2 separate regions of the Homo sapiens genome follow, and region 2 is linked to region 1. The links are contacts of gene promoters, found by promoter capture Hi-C in human tissues and cell types (Jung and others, 2019). All regions are on one chromosome and are shown on one strand. The core of a region is centred on a gene start or on the middle of the fragment in contact, and the rest is flanking DNA. Distances in the headings are between cores, read along the strand shown. Region 1 holds the start of TMPRSS4 (transmembrane serine protease 4). Region 2 has its middle 14 kb from the start of MPZL2.

What was found. The method cuts DNA at HindIII sites, captures the fragments that hold promoters and counts their contacts. A contact is called where the count stands out against the background at its distance.
Region 2: a contact is called between a fragment that was not itself captured here and the fragment with the promoter of TMPRSS4 in region 1, in 3 of the 25 tissues and cell types used here (heart right ventricle, mesendoderm cells and thymus).

Annotation. Positions count from the first base shown.
Region 1 is chr11:118,073,978-118,081,028 of GRCh38, forward strand. It overlaps TMPRSS4 (transmembrane serine protease 4), which reads left to right and starts at 3,101. Exons shown (of 13, transcript NM_019894.4): 1 at 3,101-3,328. The coding sequence starts at 3,326. All of the region lies in intron 1 of SMIM35 (small integral membrane protein 35), which reads right to left. RefSeq lists an enhancer at 2,956-3,551. The HindIII fragment of the contact is 5,819 bases long and covers 1-5,670 here.
Region 2 is chr11:118,274,318-118,281,368 of GRCh38, forward strand. No RefSeq gene overlaps it. Among named protein-coding and RNA genes, the nearest start is that of MPZL2, 14 kb to the left of the region's middle. RefSeq lists an enhancer at 3,117-3,411. The HindIII fragment of the contact is 5,787 bases long and covers 1,727-7,051 here.

The sequences.
Region 1 (7,051 bases), core at 1,851-4,350:
GGACGAGACCTGTTGGTCCTTAAACTGAGGTCACCTGTATGGGACCAGCCTGGGTGAGGAAGGCTCTGGCCTTCACTCACAGGGATAGGCCACTTCTTGAGGGGCTTTCTTGAAGAAAAAGCACGTCAAAGAAATATTCAGCAAAATTTACAAAAACGTATGATTGTGTGAACATATTGCCGGGCCCTTTCCCAGGGCCCTGGAAGGAACCGTGCAAGTGAGGGGCTCTGAAGCTTCAGCTTCAGGAGTTTCATGATAACTCTGCCTCGGATCTTGACACACATGCTGGAAACAGATAAGGAAAGGGAAGAAGGAAGAGAAAAAAATGTCAAAAATAAAGAGGAAGAGATAAAAGAGAAGTAATGGGAGGGAAAGAAGAGAGGAAAAACAGGAGGAGGATCTAAAGAGATGGATGGGCAAGAGAAAGAAGCAGGCAGGACAGGGCTGAGGGAGAGCTGAGGCTTCCTCCGGGAGAATGGGGGTTCTGGGCCGGGTGCGGTGGCTCACACTTGTAGTCCCAGCACTTTGGGAAACCAGAGCGAGTGGATCGCTTGAGCTCAGGGGTTTGAGACCAGCCTTGTCAACATGGTGAAACCCTGTATCTACAAAAAATACAAAAATAAGCCAGGCATAGTGGCTCACACCTGTAATCCCAGCTACTTGGGGGACTGAGGCGGGGGAATCCCTTGAGCTCAGGAGGTGGAGGTTACAGTGAGCTGAGGCTGCACCACTGCACTCCAGCCTGGGCAACAGAGGGGGACCCTGTCTCAGAAAAAAAAAAAAAAAAAGAATGTGGGTTCTGGTCCAGCTGGTTTTCCCTGGCACCTGGGAGAGGTGGGCCTCTGTTGTCTCCAGGCCACTGTGCCTCCCTCTGTAAACCTTCACCCCCACCTGCAGGCATCACAGCCACCCTGCCCAGTCCTGCTTATGTGCCTTCTTCCCGGACCTCTCCACAAACTCCCAGACCCAAATGGGAGCAGAAGCCAGGAGGGCTGAGTCATCATCCCTCCAACCAGCCATGCCCAGCAGCCTTCATGCCCAGACAGCTGCCTCTTTCCTGGTTCATCACCTGAGCACCAGGTAAAGCAATGCAAACCTGTGGGCCAGATGTTTAGCCTGGCACATAGAGGAACCAAGACAACTGAAAACGTGGCTCCCAGTGGCCCACTGGCTTCTCACTGCCCTGCTGCTGGGGAGGTGCCTGCCTGGACCATCACGGCCCTGACCCTGAGGTCACCTGAGATCACAGGCTCTTGCCTCTGCCCAAGACTTCCAACTCTCAAGGCCACCAGCCATCAGTAAGGAAGGGCTGGGGCTGTGCTGGCTCCAGAGCCCTGCAGGCCAGCTTCAGATCTCTGCTGCTCAGAGACAAGTCCAAGGCCACACTGCATTCATCAGCTGAGATTTGGCCAATAATCCATTACACAGATCCGGTATTCCTCCTGCTCAGACATCACTGGGGTCCTCCATGGGCCATATTATCCCAAACCATGAACCTGGGGCTTTCAAACACTTGTGTTCCATTCAGCCTGTTCACAAGCCTGGCAGTGTGAACCAGTAAGAGAACCAGGTTCCAGCCCCAACTCTGCCCGAAACTACTTCATGTCCATAGGCTATAGTTTCCTCAGCTGACAAATGGGAACAAAATATTGGGGTTGTTGTTGGAGAATTAAAGGGCTGATACACAGAAGCACGTTATCAACAGAAGGACAAATACACACGTCTAACCCAGGCTGGTCTCCTGGGAGGGTCAGGTCTGAGAAATGGAAGGAGATCTGGATTCATATGGAACCAGACACTAATTCATTATGTGACTTTGGGTCATTGACTTTGCCTCTCTGGAATTTAGTTTTGTCGCCCACAGAATGGGGGAACAATGTGGACAATTATCCAAGTCTCTCCCAGCAAAATATCTGTGGCTGTAAGGTTTCACCTTGCACATCCCCTGGCCAGGGGGCAGCTCCAGCTATCAGGATGTGGCAGAACGTGAATCAGAAATGATCCTGTGGGGCTGGGTGCGGTGGCTCACGCCATAATCACAGCACTTTGGGAGGCTGAGGCAGGTGGATCAGTTGAAGCCAGGTGTTTGAGACCAGCCTGGCCAACATGGCAAAACCCCATCTCTACTAAAAATACAAATTAGCCAGGCATGGTGGCGCACAACACCTGTAATCCCAGCAGCTACTTGGGAGGCTGAGGCAGGAGAATCACTTGAACCTGGGAGGTGGAGGTTGCAGTGAGCCAAGATCGCGCCACTGCACTCCAGCCTGGGCAACAGAGACTCTGTCTCAAAATAAAATAAAATACAAAAACACAAAACTTAGCTGGGTGTGGTGGCAGGTGGCTGTAGTCCCAGCTACTCGAGAGGCTGGAGCACGAGAATTGCTTGAACCTAGGAGGCGGAGGTTGCAGTGAGCTGAGATTGCGCCCCTGCACTCCAGCCTGGGGGACAGAGAGAGACCCTGTCTTAAAAAAAGAAAAGAAAAAAAGAAAGAAAGAAAGAAGGAAATGACTCCGTGGACGAGGAGACGTGGGCTCTAGCCAGAGCACCAATAGTGATTTTCAGAATATTGAACGGCTGCTGAGGCAGGGGCAGGAAGCACTAGTACATTGGCTCTGTGCAGGACAGCTTCACTTCTGGGATCCAGGGAAAGGGGGTACATCTTACCTCCCTAAGAGAAGAAACTCCCTCCTTCTCTGTGGACTTTCCAATCCTATTGCTCCACACCTGGCAATGATCTCTTTGTACTGAGCTGCAAACCCTGTCGCCCAACCCCCAGACCACTCCAACTTCCCACAACCCCAAACCAAAGCACCCACACAGTGAGAAGTCATGCACCTAGAAGGTAGGGGGAGGGGGGGCGGAAACTTCTGGCATCACCCTCAGCCAACACCCAGTTGGGTGGAAGTCATTCAGGCGGGAAGGCTTTTGTTACGCCTTAGGTGTGTCACCTGTTCTGAGGCCGAAGGTCCCATGAATGACTTCAGGTGTTGTTCCAGCCCCTAAGATAGGTGTCAGGTTACAAGACACATAATCATTCCAGTTTGGCAACTTCACTTGTAGGGCTGTTTTAATCAAGCTGCCCAAAGTCCCCCAATCACTCCTGGAATACACAGAGAGAGGCAGCAGCTTGCTCAGCGGACAAGGATGCTGGGCGTGAGGGACCAAGGCCTGCCCTGCACTCGGGCCTCCTCCAGCCAGTGCTGACCAGGGACTTCTGACCTGCTGGCCAGCCAGGACCTGTGTGGGGAGGCCCTCCTGCTGCCTTGGGGTGACAATCTCAGCTCCAGGCTACAGGGAGACCGGGAGGATCACAGAGCCAGCATGGTGAGTGTGGGGCCCTCTGCTCCCAAGACACAGGAAGGGTGGGTCTCCCCATGTAAGGCCCTTCAAGCAGCCTGAGCATCCATCAGCTGAGAATTCTGTGACACCTTCTAGGTTAAAAAAAGAGGCCACACCCAAATCCCCTCACACCCCAGCCCGGTACACGTCTCATACCCACCTGCCTTCCTCTCTTCCTCCATTGCCATGGTCCTTGGACCAGCTCACCTAAGAAGCTGAGCACAGAGCCAGGGCTGTCCTTCCCGACTATTCTTTCCTGAATCCTGCATGTTCTTTTGCCCAATGTCTCCAGGTCTGTTGGTTAGAGGTTGGCACTATTTTTCCAAGGCAGGGGGCTGTTCTGATGCCACGGTTGCCCTCTGCCACTCCCTGGGGAAACTGATTCCTTTTCTTTTTAAAGAAAAGTGTAGACTGGGTGCAGTGGCTCACGCCTGTAGTCCCAGCACTTTGCGAGGCTGAGGCAGACAGATCTCTCGAGGTCAGGAGTTTGAGACCAGCCTGGCCAGTATGGTGAAACCCCATCCGTACTAAAAATACAAAAAATTAGCCAGGCGTGGTGGCAGGTGCCTGTAATCCCAGCTACTTGGGAGGCTGAGGCAGGAGAATCGCTTGAACTTGGGAGGCGGAGGTTGTGGTGAGCCAAGATTGTGCCATTGCACTCCAACCTGGGCAACAAGAGTGAAACTCCGTCTCAAAAAAAAAAAAAAAAAAAAAAAAAAAAAAAGAAAGAAGGAAAAGAAAACAGTGCAGAGATGCCTCCAAACAATCTAGGGTGTTTGTGGTCATCTTTTACTTGGTCTCTTTTCATGCCCTCACCCTCTCTCCTCCTCCTCTGAATACCTGGAGCGTCTTCGCTGTCTTGGGGCAAAGAGAATCAACCCTATCTTTCAAGGAGGACAGCTGAGGGCCAGGGAGGGGAAGAGATAATAACTGGGTCTGAGGAGGAACCCAGGGGTCTTCCTTCTCCAGTCCTTGGCCAAGAGGCAGCAATTGCCCAGCCACCAAAGTGAAAGGGAAGGGAAGAGAGGAAAGGAGAAGCCACTGTCCAAGGGGGAAGGGTGTGACCTGCAGGGGCCCCTCGAGTGATTGTCTCCTATTCCCAACCTGAGCACTTCCCACGACACTCTTCTGAAAATTCTGGCAAGAACAATTCTTAGTGCGGTTGTAGCTGATGATCAGAAAGGGGAAGGGGCTTCCCTTTGAGCCAGGATCAAAGCACAAGCTTCCTGCTTTCCCATCCAAGGAGGCGCCCCAAAGTTTGGCCTGTGTGCAGAGACGCTGTATCCCCTGGGGCTCCCAGGAGAGGAGAGCAGCTGTGGAGTCTACCTAGCTGTGAGCTGCTTCTGGGTGGCAGGCACTGAGGAGACCTGGGGTGTCTCTTGGGGGAGCAACAGAGAAGGGAATCATTTCTAGGGCAGGTCACTAACTGCAGAATCAGAAGGCTGAGGCCAGCTCCCTGATTAGCTGTGCTGTCTTGAGGCATTCATCTTCCCGAGACTCACCTTCTCCCCTGCCCACGGAAACGATATGACCCACAACAGCCCCACGCACATGCACCGGGTTCGCAGAGATTACACAGCTAATACATGTGAGTAGGTTCTGGAAACCATGAAGCCCCGCACAGATGTAAGGACTTAGGACTAAAGAGGAGTCTGTGCTAGGAAATGACAGCTGGGTAGTACACCCAACACAGACCCTTTGCCACCAGGGAAGGAGCTGGGCATTGCTGGAGGAGCGGGGGAGGGCAGGTGGGAACACTGGTGGAGGGGTCAGGTCAGGCCTGGGGCCCCAAAGGCAAGGCAGCAGCATGGCCAATCTCCACGGTGTGGTCAAGGAAGTTTCTAGCCCCGGAGCTAGCCATTATACTGCCTGTGCTGAATAACCCTGTCATTAAGCCTGTGCTTAATAACCCTTGACAGCCATAGCTCCCAGCCCTGAGGGGAGGATGGGATCTCCACACCCAGGCTCAGCCCTCCCTTCCCTTCCCTTCCATTCCCTACCTCCTTCCATCCCCACAGGCCCCTTTCTGTGACAGTCAGGGTCCTTTGAGCTGCTGCGTCTTAATGACAGCTCTCCCAAGAACCCATTAAGCTGGGTATTCCTAGGGAGAGCTGGAGCAGGGACTCAGGCCCAGGCAGAGGTCAGAGCCCAAGCCCTGTCCCCGAAGGAAATGTGTCCCATGCTAACTACTCCATAGCTGAGGCCTGGAGGGAAGTCAGGGACCCTGGGACTGGTTATCCTGGCCTTGACTCATTACTGTTCCGGAGACCTAAACGCACCCTGAGCCACCAGACGTGGGTGTTAACACCTGAGGTCAACCCCCTGACGCTTCCGGCTGCTCTGGAGGAAGCTGGTCCTCCCTCCCACCTCCTGTTTTCCGTGCCAGCCTGGTACAGAGTCAAGGGGCTTGGCTGGGCTTGGCTGGGCTCAGAAACGTGGCAGTCAGGAGCCAGCCTGCGGGCAGCGGGGTGCTGGGAGCACTGCAGGGTCCACCCTGACTGGGGCACAGAATCCAGAAGCCCACTCGGCCCTGGCAGTGCCATCCTAGGCTCTGAGGTGGTAAACTGAGCTGGGCAGTGGGAAGGTCCTAAAGGGCAAGACAGGCAAGGAGGGGCTGCTTGCTTTGCCTGCTCTCCTGGATCCTTTGCCACCTGGGTGACAGGGCCTGGTGTCACTGTAACCACTCCCCCCCCACCAAAAGAAGCTCCAGCCAGACACCATTTAATCAGCCCCTTTCATTGGCCAGCCTCTAAATGGGGCTGGGGATTGGGAGGACCCAATACCTAGGTTTCACCCTGCAGGTGCTCAACACAGAGTGTGACAAGTATAACACCAGCAGTGGTTACAAGGTACCCCTGGAGCTGAAAAAGCAATAGATTCTCTCTAGGGAAGTCGGGAAATTGTCCTGGAAGAGAAACTATTTGCATTGGACTCTGAAGGATGGGCAGGCTCTCTCCAGGCAGGGAAAGCAGGAAGGAGCTCCAGACACAGGGGACTGCATGTGTGAACAGCAAGAAAGAGTGGTAGTATAGGGACAACAGGCTCTCGCTGTGGCTGGAGCAAAGACTCCGGCACTCCAGGTCATGGGAGCTGCACCTGCCGAGGTGGAAGCTGCATCCCCAGGCCCTGTCCATCTCCCAGGGCGCTTCCAGCCTGACCCTGGGGGTCAAGCTCTGTGCCTGGGTGCTTCCCTGGAGAAGGGGTTCAGATGTCAGGGCTCCTGCGTGACCCCAGGCCTCTCTCCTCCTCTCAGTCTTCCCTCAGTGCAGCTGAGAACCCAGCAGCCACCTCCCTAGCCCAGACCCATGCCAAAGCCCAAGAGATCTGAGGAGCTGAATGTAAGAAATGAGGAGAGACCAGCTCAAGGGGGTCATGGGTAGAGGGAGAGATGAGAAAAACAGACCCAAAACAGAGCTGGGGAACTGCCGACAAGCTTCCCAAAGCCCCAGAAACGCCCCAGGGCAGCAGGAGACAAATGCTTTCAGGCCTGAAAATCTCCACGGCCTCAGACTTCCCAGGTGCCTCTTCTGCCCTCAGTCTTCCTTCCTGCTCAGGTGAAAACATCAGCCTCAGTAAAACGCTTCAAGTTCCCAAGCAAGGATTCCCTGGGACAGTGAACTCCTCCAAACCTAAAGTGCAATCATCTACCACATTTTCTTTTAAACCTGTTGCCACCAGAATGGGAGCTTCTTGAGGACAGGGTCTGTG
Region 2 (7,051 bases), core at 3,370-5,869, 200 kb after region 1:
TTTTAGGACTGAGGCCAAAGACAGGAGGAAGTGTACCTCTTGCATTGTTAAGAAGAGGTAAAGAATGTTCTGGCTGCTTAAATCAGCCCTGGCTCATACCTCTTATTCCACTGTAATGATTAACTGTACGCCTTTTACGCTGTGGTGTTACAGTTTGGAAGAAAATTTATATAGTCCATCTACATAAAGGGGAGCCCCCAGATGGGGCACAGGTACAGTTAACTTTGAAGGTAAAAGGGTTGGGACAGAAAGTTGAAGGAGTTTTTGATCTGGGCGTGTGTGTGTGTGTGTGTGTGTGTGTGTGTGTGTGTGTGTGATTTTATAGTTTTTTCTCCCCTGTAAGGGAGTTATCATCTAGTGGTCTCTACTTTCCTTGTGTAGTAGAGAAGGAAAGTCACTGTCCTAGAGTAGAGGAGATGGAGAGGCAGAAGTCTTGAAGACAGAGGTGACCCAACGGTTTTTTGACAGGAATAAGAGAGGAAATTGGCCTAAGGCTGAGACTTAAAGAGATCAAGTAGTATAACCAAGGTCACCAGGCTAGTGATATAGTCAGACTCACAACAAGACCTGCCTAACTCACAGGTCAACTCCAGAGACAACTTCAACTCCTCCTTCAACATCAGTCTCCCTTCCTCATTAGAATCTACCAAACACGTCAACAGTCAACTCTCAGTTGTATGTACCAACCACTCTTTGACCAGTAGTGCCTTCCTTCCCTCCCCAGAACTGCACCTCCACCATTCTGGAAGACTTTTGAAGCAAAAGCAAATGAAATAAACAGTAGGCATCCTTTTCTCAGCATCTCTCCTGAAAGAAAAAGTCGAAGGGAAAATACTTGGAATTTTTGCCTACAATGAGGTTAGGACTGTGCAAAATCTCATTTTGTTCCGTTTGCCTCCTATTACTTTAAAAAAATAGTTTTGAGCAACTACCAAGTGTCAGGCACCATCCTCAGGAATTCAAGGGTGAAAATGATAAGATCTTAGCCCTCAAGGAGCTCTCAGGTTAAAGAAAAAGAAAATTAGTCACAATACAGGGTGACGTCAATAATAAAGGAAATGCCAAGTTCAAATGATAGCACAGGAAGAACAAGCTCTGCCTGGAAGCATGAGGGAAGCTGTCTCTGAAAAGGCTAACCATACATGGCATCCTTTAGCCAAGACCCGATGACAAAAGAACAGGGGGGCTGGGTTAGGGTGAAATAGCATGGCTCACACAAGAGCTTCAAGTCAGAGGCCAGCTTGTGGGAATCGCAATAACTACCATTTGTTAAATAATTTTCTTTCTTTTTTTATTTTTGAGACAGAGTCTCACTCTGTCACCCAGGCTGGAGTGCAGTGGCTCGATCACAGCTCACCGCAGCCTCCACCTCCTGGGCTCAAGCGATCCTCCTGCCTCAGCAACCCAAGTAGCTGGGACCATAGGCACGTGCCACCACGTCCACACTTGGATTCTTTGTAGAAACGGGGTCTTGCTACGCTGCCTAGGCTAGTCTTGAACTCCTGGGCTCAAGCAATCCTCCCACCTTGGCCTCCCCCAGTGCTGGGATTACAGGCGCGAGCCACCGCACCCAGGCAATAATTTTCTTTTAATATCTTTACATCTCACAACAACCTTAGAAAGTACTTTATTAATCTCCTCATTTTGCAGATGAGGGAAATGACACTAGGACATTTAGTAACTTACCCAAGCTTACATAGCTGGGAAGTAGTACAACTGGGCTTTAATTCCAAACTCCATGATCCTTCCTCCACAAAACAAGCTTAAGACAGAAGAGGCAGAGCAGCAGGAAAGGAGCTGTCAAAGGTGAGAGTCTTTTGTCTCCAGTTTGGTCCAAGGGTTTTTCATTGAAGTCTGATGATGTCAGGGAAATTCTAAGAAGTGATGGGAATTTTAAATAAGTGTGAAAGAGAAAGGCAACAGAGATTTGTCAGTAATGCTAAAGAGGTTTTACCTTTTTCATTATCAATGGGTTTTGTACACATATAAGGATTTAAGCATAGGTATGCAAAAGTGGTTGCATGGAGCACTCACTGAATCAGAACAGGAAGAGGGGTAGAGGAAAATCTGAAGGTTAGGTGGATTCTCCACAAGAGGTACACTGTCCCAGGCAGAGTGGAAAAAGGCTCCACCTTTTCCAACACCATTAAACATTTTGATCCATCAATACCACTGAGACAGTGAGCTTACGTTTGAAAACAGACATAAGCTTTTTTGGAGGAAAGCTGATCTTGCAAGTAGCCTACTTGAATAACAGCAGTGGAAGCTTAGAAGCTCATGGCAAGAACTGACTTGTAATCCCCACCAGTAATTCTTGTTTTCCCTGGCCTCAGCCTCAGCAACTTTCTGTCCAGGGTCCTTGACTTACTGTAACTCCACCTCTTGTTCTTTGCTCTTTTCACAAGCCATCTCAGCCATCTCAGGGGAGAAAAGGGGGCAGCAGACACATTTTGTTTGAGATAATGTAAGCAGGGAGAAGTATAGAATCAATAACTCAAGCAATGGGAAGAGTTTGCCTGCTTAAAACTCAAAATTGCAAGAAGCCGTGGAGACCTATTACACTAACATCTAGATTGGCATCTGGACAGACACCACTCCTCAAGATATTAGTAGGTACTGAACAACAGAAAAGATTCTGTACACAAGGGAAAATGCTAGATTAAACTAATGAAAAGAATTTTGTTTTGGTTTGGTTTTAGCTACAGTACTCCTCAGGGCTTTCAATATGCTAACATGGGACCAGGTTTTTTATACCTTACCTAGTCATCTTTCCAGAACTTTCTGTTCACTGAAAAAAATTGGGACAATGCATCTCAAAGTGTGGCCTGCAGACTACCTGGAAACTGTCACTGGTCCTTAAGGAGATAAATACAAAACCTGAGAGTAAGTATTTAAAGTTATTACAAGTAATTTGACATTGCCTCAACATCCAAGGCTGTGATCAGAGGACTCACTGGACAGGTTATAGAACAGTGCAGGGGTTGCAAATTGTATGGCAGGAGGCATCATCATAGATCTGCCAAATGCTGAAAAGCAGCAAAGGTGCTGAGTTAGCTAAGGTATTTCAGCCTTTCTACCTTCCCCTCCATTTCCCATTGAGGCCTGAAGCTTCAAGAGAACAAGCAGGTTGGACTTGTCAGAGTTGAGAAGCCTTTCTGAGTAGAAAGGGCAGCCAGCTGCTTGTCCAGGCAAACAGGATGTGAGTCTTCTCAGGTGAGTCAGAGCTAAAGAGGAAAGCCTTTCCTGCCTAGCTCAGTGAGGGGGTCCACCCTTAGCTTTGGAAAGGGGAAAACTCAGGGAAAAGTCCCAGCAACATCGCTCTTTTCTTGCAGTTTGTTCCAATGTTATATGCTGTCTTGAGTGTCAATATCTGCTGAGCTACATTAGCAATAACCAAGAGGAAAAGAAGCTTTTAAAGCCAAAGAAAAATTGTCATTTAAAGTTGTCACCTTGGGGACAAGCTTTTATTCTAATGATGCTGACGTTATTCCAGATATTTCTAGAACATTTTTAGAATTGCCTTAGGAGTTTGAATCATAACATTTTTCGATTTAAAAAAAAAAAACCAGGGTCTCGCTCTGTTGCGCAGGCTGTAGTGCAGTGATGCAATCTCGGCTCACTGCAACCTCTGCCTCCTGGGCTCAAGCAATTCTCCCACCTCAGCCTCCCTAGTAGCTGGGACTACAGGCACGTGCCACCATGCCCGGCTAAGTTTGTATTTTATTTGTATTTTTAGTAGAGACAGGGTTTCACCATGTTGGCCAGGCTAGTCTCAAACTCTTGACCTCAAGTGATCCACTCACCACAGCCTCCCAAAGTGTTGGAATTACAGACATGAGCCACTGCATCCAGCCTTGAGATTTTTACTGATGGCAAATCCTCATGCTTTTGAGAATGGGCTTGATTTTTGGACACATTTAAAAGTCATGTAGATCAAATCCAAAGAAAGTAAGAAAGTGAATGACCAAACCAGGCACTGATTATAAAATCATAAGTATGATGACTTGTGAAATGCATAAATGGTCCCTGAGGATCCTTTAAAAGACAGGATTCTCTTTAAAAGCTCTTTAGGCCAGGATCGGTGGCTCATACCTGTAATCCCAGCACTTTGAGAGGCTGAGGTGGGCGGATCATTAGATCAAGAGATCGAGGCCATCCTGGCCAACATGGTGAAACCCCGTCTCTACTAAAAATACTAAAATTAGCTGGGCATGGTGGTGTGTGCCTGTAGTCCCAGCTACTCAGGAGGCTGAGACAGGAGAATTGCTTGAACCCAGGAGATGGAGGTTGCAGTGAGACGAGATCACGCCACTGCACTCCAGCCTGGGCAACAGAGCAAGACTCTGTCTCAAAAAAAAAAAAACCTCTTTAAAAACTGTTTTGTGCATAACTATAATAAAGGTATAATTTTCCATTTACTTTAAGGTCTCTTATCTTATTAAGCTGGATGTATACCTTAACTGGCTCTTCTTAATTCACAGATTAAGGCCTTTCATGATCTGCCTCTGTCAACTAACCAGCCCCTCTTTCCCCACTTTCCAGGCTCCTTAAGCCTTATTCATCACTATGCCAAACTAATCACATACTTGTTCTTACCTCCACATATATATTTGTGCATATGTTCTGTCTACTTTATCCAGCTGATCAACTCTTATTTGCCTTTCAAAATTAAGTTCACATTCCATGAAGCCTTCCCTGTCCCCTGGACCTGGAGTTAATAGTTCCCTTAGCACCTTGGGACACCTTTTTTATAGCCTTTGCTGCACTGTATGGTCATTACTTGTTTACACGTCTGCCTCTACTGTAGACTGAATCCCTCCAGGGCAGGGTTCATGTCTCTGTATCCCCAACACCTAACTGTTAGGCACATAGTAGATGCTCAATACGCATTTGCTGGATGAGTGAATGCATTCTTACTGAAGCATCTGTGTGCCCCACACCTCAGTGATGCTAAGCAGTATGGAGCTCCCACTGTTGGAACCTAAAGAAGTTTACTAAGGAAGTGAAGTGACAACCTAAAACTCAGTCCCAGCTTTAACTTGGCTTATCTTTGCATCTAAGTGAAGATCATCTCTAAGACTGGGATATCTACACTGAACAAGGGCTTCCCACCTTCCTCTGTTTTCAGCCTAGGTGCAACCATGAAAGGAAAGGAGCAAATGTAATCTGTATCATAATATATTCTATTTGAACATGATTAAATTAAAACTAATTGATAATGTCGATTAAATAATAAACACTAATTAAATACTAATTGTCAGAATGTGTCTCCTACTTTTATTCACTCTTTATAAGTTTTAATTACTAAGTTAATGATCAAGAATGGTACTATGTTGGGCTGAAACCTAGGATTTGGAATATACCCATTCATTCATCTACCAAATAATGTTTAAATTGAATTTAAAAACTAAGGCTGAATAATTATAGAGCACCTGTTATATGTCTAACACTGTGCTGAAAAAAAATATATGAAGATGCCATATTTAGCTTCATGGAATTCACAACCCAGATACTAGAACCTTCCATCTGCAAAGCTCTTTGCAAAGCATTTGAATACATTGTATCATTTAATTCTCACTATTCTATTCTACCCAATTTTCCTCATCTACTTTAGATAAGGAAAATGAGGATGACAGAGATGAAACAGTTTACCCAGTTACTCAGCTCACTCTGGCTAGAAAATAAATGGAAAAATTAGGGCTGAATCTGGGAGTTCTGTCTCTAAATCCAAAGCTTTTCTCATGGGCTCACACAAAGTCAATAATTTTTTTTTTTTTTTTTTTGCTTTTTACTATGGAACATTTCAAACATATACAAATGTAGATAAAATAATATAACAAACCCCATGTCCTATCACCCAGCCCTTATTATCAGCAACCCATGGTCATTTATGTCTTTATCTACCCACCCAATATTATTTTGAAGCAAATTGAAGATACCATATCATTTTGCCCATAAATATAACTTCTGTTAAAAGATAAACTTTGGCACACTTTAAAACTTTGAAGAGTTTATTTGAGCAAACAGCAATTCATTGATCAGGCTGCTCCAAACTGGAAATGGTTTGGGCTTCGAGGACGGAGCAAGAGGGGAAGGCTCTAATAGGGTAAATGCAGAAGCAGAGCAAAGAAATTATTTGATTGGTTAAACTTCCAGAATTTCCTTATTTAGACTATCCAATAGGAAGTTAAAGACAATATAACTAATGCCCAGATGGCCTTCTGTGATTGGCTAAGTTTCTTTTAAATTAACTGCTTACAGGAAATGAGACTGAGTTAGGTTTTAGCTTGCTTAGTAGGAACTTAGTTAGAGCCTCCTCAGTCTAATGCCCCCCCCATTTAATTATTTAAATACTTCAACACCATTATCATATTTTATTTTATATTTTTAGAGATGGAGTCTTGCTCTGTCACGCAGGCTGGAGTGCATGGCACAATCAATTATCTTGCCTCAGCCTCCCAAGTAGCTGGGACCACAGGAGTGCACCACCATCCCTGGCTAATTTTTTTTTTATCTTATAGTAGAAACAGTCTGTCTATGTTACCCAGGCTGGTCTTGAACTCTTGGCCTCAAGCAATCCTCCTGCCTCGCCCTTCCAAAGCGCTGGGATTACTGGCCTGAGCTACCATATCCAGTCTCCATTATCATATTCTAAGAGAATTAGCATTTCCTAAATGTCAAATAACCAGTGTTACAATTTCCAGTTATCTCATAAATGTTATAACATGTTTTTACAATTTGTTTATTTGAATGAAGGTCCAAATAAGGTCTAAAATTTGCAATTGGTCTTTATGTTTCCTAGATCTCTCTTAATCTATGGGTTCCTTATTATCTTTTATTATTATTCCTTATTATTTTTTGTTTCCTTGCAATTTACATTTAAAGAAATTGAGTCATTTGTCTCATGGTTTTCCACAGTATTTTTTTTTTTTTTTGCCTGCATCACGAAGGTGTTGTTTAATATGTTCCTCTGTATTTCCTATAGACTGGTATTGTATTTAAAGCAGTAGTTTTCCATTTTTAGTGAGCATCAGAATCACCTGAATGATTT